Linked DNA regions of Homo sapiens: region 1 is linked to region 2. Evidence: promoter capture Hi-C in 16 types of primary human blood cells and fetal thymus (Javierre and others, 2016). All regions are on one chromosome and are shown on one strand. Each heading gives the region's core, a stretch centred on a gene start or on the middle of the fragment in contact. The rest is flanking DNA. Distances are from core to core; before and after follow the strand shown. Region 1 overlaps LINC02328 (long intergenic non-protein coding RNA 2328). Region 2 holds the start of LINC01148 (long intergenic non-protein coding RNA 1148).

Region 1 (6,001 bases), core at 2,570-5,069, 840 kb before region 2:
TGTTAATAACTCTATGACACTTCCACCTTCTAAGTCCTCACAAAGGCACTGGGAAGATTCACATTCATAACAAGTATGGAACCCAGAGTGGGGGGTTGTAGCTATGAAATTTACCTCTTAAACCCATAGCATATCTTTGGCAATGAAAATAAGTTACATTAAAATTTCCCCCAAGCCCTCCTCACCTTTGAGAATAATAATGTTCTTAATTCTACTAAAACATTTGAAAAGCTAGGACGAGTCCAAGAATCTGCCAAGAAGGGAAAACTACCAGGTGTTTAAATGGCGAGCATCCATGGGATACAGTTGAATGAATAAAGATGAATAGGGATGAAACATTTAGTTTGAAATAAATTTAAGTGAAAATTAATCCAGGCTATGACTGAAATATAATTTAATCTGTTCATTTTACTCTAGTTAACCCCTACATATAAAAATAAGCACTGAGAAAACAGGAACTTGGTATAATATATATTGTAAAAACATATGGTCAGTATCCAACAAGAGTGTCAACCTCAAAACCAAGAAAACATACTGCTCCCACTAGACAAAAATTAAAATTGGGAAGCCTGTTAAGTGCACAGCCAGAAAAAAATATGATGTATATTATAGGAAATGGGAAAGATAAACCAAACAGGAAAAGATAAAATATAAAGTTGCCAACTTTGTAAGAAATTTCATCAAGATGGGTCCTTATCTTTCACAGATAGATAATCATACCTATGATGGAAACTGTAAGCAAAGGATTGAGCCAGAACAAAATACTTTTCAGTTTCTGTTTATTCGTTATTTTTCTTTTATAGGAAACAAAATATCAATAGAAGCATAACTGGAGGTTTTTGGGATTAAGCCCTCGGCCAGTCATGTCTGCAGAGAACATATTTTCCTTGTTTCTAGTGGCAAATTATTTAGACGTTATCTTGGATTTTCTGAAACTTATAATTTCAAATATTTTCTTTATTTTAGACCACGTATCAAGGATTGAGTTTTGGTACATAAATAGTTTAGCATTTGCTTTTCTCTGAAAGATAGTGTATTAGTGTTCCCTAGAGAACAACACCAGTAGGGTGTGTGTGTGTGTGTGTGAATATGTGTGTGTGTGCATATGTTTGTGTGTATGTATAGAGAGAAGGAAAAAAATAAGTTAATTTATTTTAAAAAATTTAAAGGAATTCCAGTAAGTAATGCATATAACATACAAAATATGTGTTAATTGACTGTTTATGTTATCAGTAAGGCTGCCAGTCAACAGTGGGTTATTAGTAGTTAAGTTTTGGGGGAGTCAAGATTTATACACAGGTTTTTAATTGCTTACGGAGTTAGTGCCCCTCACTCCAATGTTGCTGAAGGTTAACGGTACTAAATTTAAAAAACAGTTATTCTTAAGTAGATCACATACACACATGTAAAATTACAACATGTGTTCTGTGTTCAAACATGTAAAGACATAACGCCGCATATTGTGCTTGATTTTAAATAATTAAAATTCTGCAGAAGTATAGTTTGATAATCGTAATAGATATTCCTAGGAAAGTATAAAGCCCAATTATTTTATATTTAGGTTGTTTCCAATATTGTTTTAGTTGTAAACATATGTGAACTAAATATGTCTAGCATTGGCATAATCATATTACCAGTTCACCTCTTTAATATCCAAGATGTTATGTTTGCTCATGCTCATCAGCTTCTTAATCTTATCATAGGTAAGGATGCTAAACACATTTCTACTGATTTCAAATTATTTAAAATATGTGAATAATTCTGTATATTTTTGTATTTAAGTGGAAAAATAGAAATTAATTCCATATATTTAATCATGATTTTTAGTATAATATTTTATGACCACATATCATAAAATCATTCCTATAAATGGTCAGAATTGTTAACATATGTTTAAAAGACTACTGGAATGAAAAGGATGTATTTTGGATATGAGAATGACATAGGACATGAATTTTGGAGTCCAGGATGAAATGCTATGGACTGAATTGTGTCTCTCCAAAATGCATATATTGAGATCTATCTTAGACAGCTCAGGCTGCTATAGCAAAATATCATAGATTAGCTGGCTTATAAGCAACAGAAATTTATTTATGATAGTTCTGGAGGCTGGGAAATACAATATCAAGGTGCCAGCAGATTCAATGTCTGGTGAGGGCCCATTTTGTTTTCCATAAATGATTGTCTTTCCCCTGTGTCCTCACATGGCAGAAGGAGTGAGGGACTTTTCGGGAATCCCTTTCGTAAGAGTACTAATCCCATTCATGAATGTTCTGTCTTCCAGATCTCATCATTTCTCAAAGAACCCACCTCCAAATACCGTCACATTGGTAATTAGGTTTCTACATATGACTTTTGAGAGGACATAAACCTGCAGTCTGTAACCACCCCTAACCCCCAATGTCATGGTATTTGAAGATGGGGTCTTTGGGAGACTATTAGATTTAAATGAGGTCATGAGAGTAGAGATTAATGTCCTCAATCTCCAACGATGGGATTGGTGGCCTTCATAAAAAAGGTGACAGAGTGCTTGCTGTCTCTTTCTCTCTTTGCCATGTGAGAACATAGCAAGAAGGCATTTCTGGCAAGAAACCAACAATGCTGGCACCGGATTTCTAGCTTCTAACCTGCCACCCAGTCCATGGAGTCTTGAGCAGACTAAGAAAGATACAGTAACAGAGAAGTAAGATTAAAATAAATATTCAAAAAAGCCAATGTTAAAGAAAAAATGAAATCCTTCAGTTAAATATCAAACCTGGTTATTGAAACTAAATGCTATGCAAAGTCACTGAGCTACTTGTGAAATATCAATATTGCATTATCAGCTGATTGAAGTGTCATATTTGCCCCAGTTTTGTCACTTGGATTCCATGTTCATAGTGTACATAGCATATATGGCCAGAAATTTTCAAAGTGCCTGAATATGTGTTGCCAGTTGTAAATACAACTATGTATTTGTCATCAGTTGATGAATCTCGTCTTATATCTTACTCAAATAGGGTAAATTTAAGATATCTTTAAATTTATTATAATGTCATTAAAATTAAAGAGCACCTTATAGTTTTATGCTTTACACATTTCATAATTTACTTAACAAAATAATTTATGTAAATAAACCACTAGATTAAAAAAAAAGTAATTCTAGTGGTTACACATTGGTCCCCAACCTTTAAATTTTCAGGTAAATTCTGTTATCATTCATGGTGGATGTGGTTCTGTCTTAGGCACTAGATATAGTTTCTTAGCCTTATCTTCAACAGCTGTGAAAGAAATCTTCTAGCCCTCTCTGATTTTAATTTAGATGTGGAATAGTCTATCCTGAAGCTTCTTCATCTATAGAGCCCTCTCCACTTAAACTTTAAGGAGCATGACTTGAGATTAGGAAAAAATGTTCTACAAGTTCCTTAATTGTTCTACCGAATCTCACAAGAAGCAGACAGAAGATTTCAGTTGGGTTTAAAAGATTGATAAGCAGATTTCAAAATGGCTCCAGGGCAGATCTTCAAACCATAAATAATACTCTCACTGAGAAATCATGCTTCTAAATATTTTAACTATCTGGAGAGAGTGCTCCTTTCTCAGAAAAGTATATGATGACCTTTCCTTTAAAATAAACTAAATTTATGTATACGTTAATAGTAAATAATTGGTATTCTCAATTTCATACATAATTGGTTTATTTTTCTGTCTTTGACTATTGACTAAGAAAGCACAGGCATCCATCTTAAAACGCCACAGGTAAGACGTCTTCAGAGGCCACCCCTCTAGACTGTGTCATGGAGGTATTGTCTGTGTGCACCCTCATAGAGGTGATGGAAGAAGGTGCATATAATTTTCCCAGAAAAGGATATTGCAGTGAATTATATTTTGCTAGATAAGTAGATGACTAGAGATAAATAGAGATAGCTAAGATAGAGGAAGAGATAGTCAGTGAATGGACTCAGATAAAGAATGCCTTAATTGTGTACTGGCTCTGCTACTCCTAACTGAACTTGAGCGCATCGGTTACTCTCTTTTTATGAAAATAGGATTGTAAAACCTATGAGATGATGGATGACAAAGTAATCTAATATTAGTGACTCAAATGGCACATCCTTGTTTAAATAATCCTAATGCAGTCTGACACATCCTTTAAAACACATGGGGAAAAAGGAGATAATGAAACTCCCGGTTGGAATAATGTGTGTTTGTCTATTCATCTAATTCTTCTTCCTTGAGAAAGAACTGTATTTGACCCAGCATTTTGAAAAGTTGTACCAATATTTGTATACAGCTTTCATATTTTTTTTTTCTCTAATAGGTGCTTTTTTTTCTGAAGCTTTGGTAGTGTAACTGTAAGAGTCCTGGAATTGGAAAAGCAAATCCAGAAGTTGAGTTCCATGACTTTTTTGCTGTTTGCCTTTGGGTAAGTCTACGATATCCAGTTTCTGCATCTCTCAATTTTGTTATAAAGACTAAATAAGGTAGTATACATGTACACATGTACAGCTAGACTGTAAATCACTATTCAAGTATGTGTTGTTTTCATCATGTTTCTATAGAAAAGAGGAAACTTTTCTATTATGTAATACGTTTTTAATTTACAAACTATAAACTTGATTACAATTTGTACTTGCCTTTGGCCATGCTGTGTTTTTTCTAATCGACGAGTGACTGTCATGCAAGAGGTTGGGGGGAAAAGAAAACCCGCATTCTTCACATAGCCCTTGCATTTAAGAGGTTAAAAAATTGTTTTAGGTCACAGACACCTCTGGTTTTCACAGTTTATCATGGTTTCATTTGAGCTTGGTGCCATGAAAGGTGTGATTGGTCTTAATATAGAGTTTTATTTCTAATTATTATTATTATTATTATTATTATTATTATTATTATTATTATTTTGAGACAGTCTCGCTCTGTCGCCCAGGCTGGACACTCTGCTCACTGCAAGCTCCGCCTTCCGGGTTCACGCCATTCTCCTGCCTCAGCCTCCTGAGTAGCTGGGACTACAGGCACCCGCCACCATGCCCGGCTAAGTTTTCGTATTTTTAGTAGAGACGGGGTGTCACCGTGTTAGCCAGGATGGTCTTGATTTCCTGAGCTCGTGATCCGCCTGCCTCAGTCTCCCAAAGTGCTGGGATTACAGGCGTGAGCCACCGCGCCCGGCCAGTTTTACTTCTTAAAGAAAACATCCAAGACAGAAAGATGTGCTTTGTTGTTGTAGTAGTAGAAGGAAGGAAGGAAGGAAGGAAGGAAGGAAGGAAGGAAGGAAGAAAGGGAGAGAGAGAAAGAGAGAAAGAGAGACAGAGAGGAAGGAAAGGAAGGAAGGAAGGAAGGAAGAAAGCAAGGAAGAAAGGAAGAAAGAAAGAGAAAGAAAGGGGGGGAGAGAGAGAGGAGGAAAAGGTAAAAAACATATATTAAATGTTGACACTGGCACCAATATTGAGAAAAGTATCTTCTAAAATCGGAGGTAAACACTACTACATTTTACTGTGCTTAAACATTGTTTTAATGTCCACCAAATGTAGGCACAGAAAAAAACCAACGTACACACATTTTACAGACTCTGACTAAAGGGGAAAACAATTCTAAAGCAGATGTTTCTTTTCTCCCTTTTGAACAAATATTTTATTGAAATTCTTCACACCAGACTTTATTAATTAATCTGAAAAAGAGAGTGAGGGTTGATGCTGATTCTAATCACAGGAAACAGATAACAAACTGTGGTCCATTTTTCCTGTCTCTGTCTGACATCAGCATCTGGTTCCTTGGCAGGCTCTGTCAACCTTTGCGTTGACATCCTAGGAGCTGCCTCAGCTCTGTCAGTTTCCTGGATGTCGCCGTTGGGCTGAGGCTCACCACAATCATTTTATTTTGTTGTTACTCGCACTGGGTCTTAATGAAATTCTTCCTTCTGCTTCTGCAATCATAGAAACATTATATGCAAAGTCAACTTAGTGATGTTTTTCTTTAATCCTGAGATGTCCATTTAAGTGCTTTATTTTTTAAGGTTGAATTTTAA
Region 2 (5,637 bases), core at 2,821-5,320:
GAACCCCAGGGACCTTGCTTCATTAGAAACCACCAATGCAACAGGCTATCCCGGGAGGTTCTAGTTGAGACAGTTCTAGTATAGGGAAGGCCTCTCTGAGAAAAGACCTGAAGCAAAAGTGGATATAAAAGAGCAAGTCATGAAAAGATGTCGGGGGAAGCTTCTGAGCCAACAGAACAGCAAGTAGAATGGCCTGAAAGTGGGACAGTACTGTATGTACAAGGATTGGAAAGATGACTATGAATACAGTGGAAGGAATAAGTACAAGAGTGATAAGAAATAAGGTCAGAAAGAGAGATAGGTTCATATTATGAAGAGTCTTAACGAGCATGGACAGAAGATTACATTTCATAATTTTTCCAGTAGGAAATAATTAAAGAGTATAGGACAAAGAAGTCACACAATTTGATTTTTTAAAAGTCATTCATCTTCTGTGTGAATTGATTGACTGGGGCAAGAGTGGAAGCAGGGAAGTGAGTTAGGAGTTAATTGTTGCCTTCTTCGTGAGAACAATGCAAGAATTGGTTGTGGTGGTGACAGAGGATTAAGAGATAGATTCTTGGGAATATTTTGCAGGCAAAACTGACAAGACTTGGTAATGAATGTGATATGGATTTTCAGGCAGAGAGAGTCATGATCTGAGCATGAATAACAAAGTCAGGATGATGCCATTTATAGATATGGAGAAGGCCGGAGGCACTGGTTGGTGGGAGCTTGAGAAATCAAGAGATCTATTTTGGACTTGTGAAGTTGAGATGCTTATTCAACATTCAAATGAATGTGAAAACGAATGTTACAACTCAGGGACTGAAGAGAGTCCAAAACATTAATCTGGTCTCTACTGCCATTGGACAATATGATATCCCTTAGGGAAGGAGTATAAATTGGTTAAGACTAACATAGAAGATAGAGATTTTGAGGTCAGAAAGAGGACGAAGGACCCACAAACGAGACTAAGGGAGAGTAGACAGAACTCTTATCCAGTCGCATTAACAAAAACTTTAGCTGCAGGGAGAGCTTGAGTCAGATGAAGGAGGCACCAGTTGCAGGGAGACAAATTAGGAGGCTTTTGTAATGACACAGGGGAGAGATAACAGACTTAAATTTAGGCAGTAGAAGCGGGAGGGGGAGGGAAATTTTGGAATCATTCAGGAAGAGAAATAACAGGATTCTGTGCCTTACAATATATGAAAGTTATGCTGAAGCTTTCCTATTAAATTTTTTTCTGCATTGATTAGGGATTTAAGTCTCTGAGATCAAATAATTCTCTTAACTGAAGATTCAGTCATTTGAAAATTATGAAAATGACATAGAACATGGTTTGTATGGAAACACTGAATGAAAGAGCAGTGGAGTGGCTGCTCTTGTAACACAGAAAGAGACAAAACCATTGAAATACAGTTTCTTTGGTACAGATTAGGATGCATCAGGCAAATCCAGATATCATCCATCTGCTTTCTTTGAAAACAGTCAAAGGTGCTTCAAGACTTTCTTCTAGTCTTATTTTGATTGCTTATAGTCTTCTAAAAACCAATCTGCAAAAGAGAAAAGTCAGTGAGAACTCATTACTACACCTCTATTTTGTTACTGCTAGTATGAACATTGGTACTTTAGAAAATACTTTGATTAGGCCAGGCGCGGTGGCTCACGCCTGTAATCCCAGCACTTTGGGAGGCCGAAGCGGGAGGATCACGAGGTCAGAAATCGAGATCATTCTGCTAACACTGGGAAACACCGTCTCTACTAAAAATACAAAAAATTAGCTGGGCGTGGTGGCGAGCGCCTGTAGTCCCAGCTACTCGGGAGGCTGAGACAGGAGAATGACGTGAACGCGGGAGGTGGAGCTTGCAGTGAGCTGAGATTGTGCCATTGCACTCCAGCCTGGGCAACAGAGCGAGACTCTGTCTCAAAAAGAAAAAAAAAGAGAAAAGAAAAAAATACTTTTGATTTTACTTTGTATTAAATAAACTCCTGCTGCCCCCTAGTGGCAATTTATTGGGGAACAGAATCTCTGGGTCTATTGTCTGTTTTGCGGCAGAAACATGTATTGGCAACACCAATGTGGTACATAGAAGATTATCCCCCACATTAAGGCATTTTATAGACATCACAACAATGACCTTGTATTCATAATTGCATAACACAGTGGTTTGTCTGTTATCATTGCAATTAATGGAACTCAATCTGGGATTGTTCAAATGATGGCACCACAAGCCATTTGGCAATTGGAAGTCAGTCATTTCCTGATATGGCCTAGTAATTAGTTACTCGAATTACTTAAATTCTGAGTCTTTTTACACGCAACCAAGGCATCATCATCATGTGAACACCTGTGTTTACTCGACCTTGAGTAGACATAATAGCAAAAGAGTCTGTCCCCTATGAAGTTTAAAAATCCAGGCCGCGTGTTTCAATTCCTTATTTCCTGTCCCATCTTTGAACTCTTCCCAGGTTTATCGATTGTAGGAAATGCCATTCCCTTCAGGAGAAACCCAACTCCCAATCATACTGTTGGGGTATTCGCCTTTGGCCTAAAGGACACAATCACATCACAACACAATAATCCAAGTTTAGTGTTTGCTCAGTCTAGTTCCTTTTCATAGTCTCTTTAGGGTTGAAATAAAGAACAGCCTTCATCACTTTCCTAAGATTCTTCCATCACAGCTTCTCATTTACAAACAGCTGCTCAAAAACAGCTATATACAACTCCATTAGAAAAGTCTAAAATTTAAAAACAGAAGAAAAGTGTTTTAAATCAAACAAAGGTACTATTTTTCCCAAACAGGCATATAAAATTTGCACTTATTTTATATTGAAAGATACATGCAACTTCATTTACCCGGCAGAACAATAATTTGTATGGCAAACATATCTCTGTGTCTGGAATTGGTTGGTTCTTGGTCTGACTTCAAGAGTGAAGCCACCACCCTTGCGGTGAGTGTTACAGTTCTTAAAGACGGCGTGTCCAGAGTTTGTTCCTTCTGAAGTTCGGATGTGTTCGGAGTTTCTTCCTTCTGGTGGGTTCGTGGTCTCCCCGGCTCAGGAGTGAAGCTGCACACCTTCCCAGTGTGTGTTACAACTCTTAAGACGGCGCGTCTGGAGTTGTTCCTTTCTCCCGGTGGGTTTGTGGTCTCGGTGGCTTCAGGAGTGAAACTGCAGACCTTCGCAGTGAGTGTTCCAGCTCATAAAGGCAGTGTGGACCCAAAGAATGAGCAGCAGCAAGATTTACTGCAGAGTGAGAGAACAACGCTCCCACAATGCAGAAGGAGACCCCAACGGTTGCCACTGCTAGGTCAGGCAGCCTGCTTTTATTCTCTTATCTGGCCTCATCCACATCCTGCTGATTGGTCCATTTTACAGAGAGCCGATTGGTCTGTTTTACAGAGAGCTGATTGGTCCGTTTTGACAGGGTGCTGATTGGTGCATTTACAATCCCTGAGCTAGACACAAAAGTTCTCCACGTCCCCACTAGATTAGCTAGATACAGAGTGCTGACTGGTGTATTTACAAACCCTCAGCTAGACACAAAGTGCTGATTGGTGCATTTACAAACCTTGAGCTAGATACAGAGTGCCAATTGGTGTATTCACAATCCCTTAACTAGACATAAAGATTCTCAAGTCCCCACTTGACTCAGGAGCCCAGCTGGCTTCACCTGGTGGATCTCCCACTGGGGCCCCAGGTGGAGGTGCTTACCAGCCCCGCGCCGTGCGCCCGCACTCCTCAGCCCTTGGGCGGTTGATGGGACCAGGCGCCTTGGAGCAGGAGGCGGCGTTCGTCCGGGAGACTCAGGCCGCGCAGGAGCCCACGGCGTCGTCGGGGCGGGGAGACTCAGGCATGGCAGGCTACAGGTCCCAAGCCCTGCCCCGCGGGGGAGCAGCTAAGGCCCAGCGAGAAATCGAGCGCAGCGCCGGTGGGCCAGCATTGCTGGGGGAACCGGCGCACCCTCCACAGCTGCTGGCCAGGATGCTAAGCCCCTCACTACCAGGGGCCGGCAGGGCCGGCTGGCCGCTCCGAGTGCGCGGCCCGCCAAGCCCACGCCCACCCGGAACTCTAGCTGGCCCGCAAGCGCAGCACGCAGCCCCGGTTCCCGCCCGTGCCTCTCCCTCCACACCTCCCTGCAGGCTGAGGGAGCCGGCTCCGGTCTCGGCCATCCCAGGAAGGGGCTCCCACAGTGCAGCGGCGGGCTGAAGGGCTCCTCAAGCGTGGCCAGAGTGGGCGCCAAGGCCGAGGAGGCGCCAAGAGGGAGCGAGGGCTGTGAGGACTGACAGCACGCTGTCACCTCGTCTCTACTTAGGTGAATGATGCCTTTGGCCTGCTTATGTCTTCCATAGCCACAATGGTGAGTACTTGTTTTCTACTCAGCTAATAAGAAAATAAGTTTTGGCGGTTTTCTGAGAGCAAAAGTATTTATTGCTTGCCCAAGATAAATCGACCTCTAAAGAGACAGAAACTATTTTAAAACAGTTTTAAAAACAACATTTTTCCGTTTACACAGAAAGTTTTAGTGTCAATTTCACCCCCTCCCCAAATACTATACCCTTTATAAATTATGGGTGTTTGTTTTTGTTTTTGTTTTTTGTTGTTGGTGGTGGTTGGTTGGTTGGTTTGTTTTGTGCCTCTTACTCTTAAAGTATGGTCATTTAGGAAGTCTATGTAATTTTGTGTCCCCTGATTGCCCCCTCTTAGAAAATTGAAATTCTTCAAGGTGGAAGAAACAACATATCTATATTTGTAATCCAAGTATCTAGAGATAACCTGGCTTATAGTAGGTGATCAGTAAAAGTTTGTTGAATAGAACCAAAAAAAGAGGAATATAGATGATACTGATATTAAAAATAAAATAAAAATGACATCCACTGAGTGTTAGGATATCACCGAGGGAAACCCCAGAAGATTATTTAGTATTGATTGACAAAAATTAACATTTCTAAATGATGCTTTGAATTAAGGATTCTTGGTCTATTCATGACAAGTCTTCCAATGTGAATTTATATCTCAAAATATTACATAACCTGTAAAGCTGAATCCATGAATGTGAAGTCCAGCTAAATTTGAGACTGATTCTAAATACAGTGGTAGAGTATGCAGTTTGCTATTGTTGTCTTCTGTCTTTCATAACAAAATAATTTATTTTCTTCCTATATTGGTCAGGAATATCCTGTCAAGAAGGGAGGTTATCTAATTGTTGAAATATCAACATTTTAAAAGAAGACTCCAGAAAAGAGGGTAATGCTAAACATAAAGTCATGTTATGATAATGAAGGTACTTCAGGTGCATTATGGAGCACATGTTGAGAAGGGGTTTTTGGCAAATAATGTCCCTCAATTATAAGACGTGGGCATCACTTGATCACATCAAATGAGTCTATAGTTTAAGCCAGTCATAATTATTATACCTTGTAGCACATGCAAAGATTTATCTCAGCGCTTTTATAGTTTAACCCTATGTATATTAAAGGGCTAGAAACTCAATGTCATCTTTCCGAATAAACTTCCTCATGCGTCATATTTTTCATTGAAATCCTTTGTTTGTATTAATATTCTTAAAACCTATGATGTAGCTTTATAAATGAACAAAAATATTGAAGATTTATTTTTAATATTTTAAAAGATACAGATATGAAAAGTTCTTTT

Evidence for each region. Contacts are between HindIII fragments. The CHiCAGO score rates a contact against its expected background, and 5 or more counts as called.
Region 1: a contact is called between a fragment that was not itself captured here and the fragment with the promoter of LINC01148 in region 2, in 2 of 17 cell types (M0 macrophages and M1 macrophages). The highest score is 9.5, in M0 macrophages.

What each region holds. Positions count from the first base shown.
Region 1 is chr14:86,066,563-86,072,563 of GRCh38, forward strand. LINC02328 (long intergenic non-protein coding RNA 2328) reads left to right here. Exons shown (of 4, transcript NR_110155.1): 2 at 4,301-4,405. Among named protein-coding and RNA genes, the nearest start is that of LINC02316, 6.6 kb to the left of the region's middle. The HindIII fragment of the contact is 994 bases long and covers 3,323-4,316 here.
Region 2 is chr14:86,901,708-86,907,344 of GRCh38, forward strand. LINC01148 (long intergenic non-protein coding RNA 1148) reads left to right here and starts at 4,071. Exons shown (of 5, transcript NR_038445.1): 1 at 4,071-4,342. The HindIII fragment of the contact is 4,593 bases long and covers 1,204-5,637 here.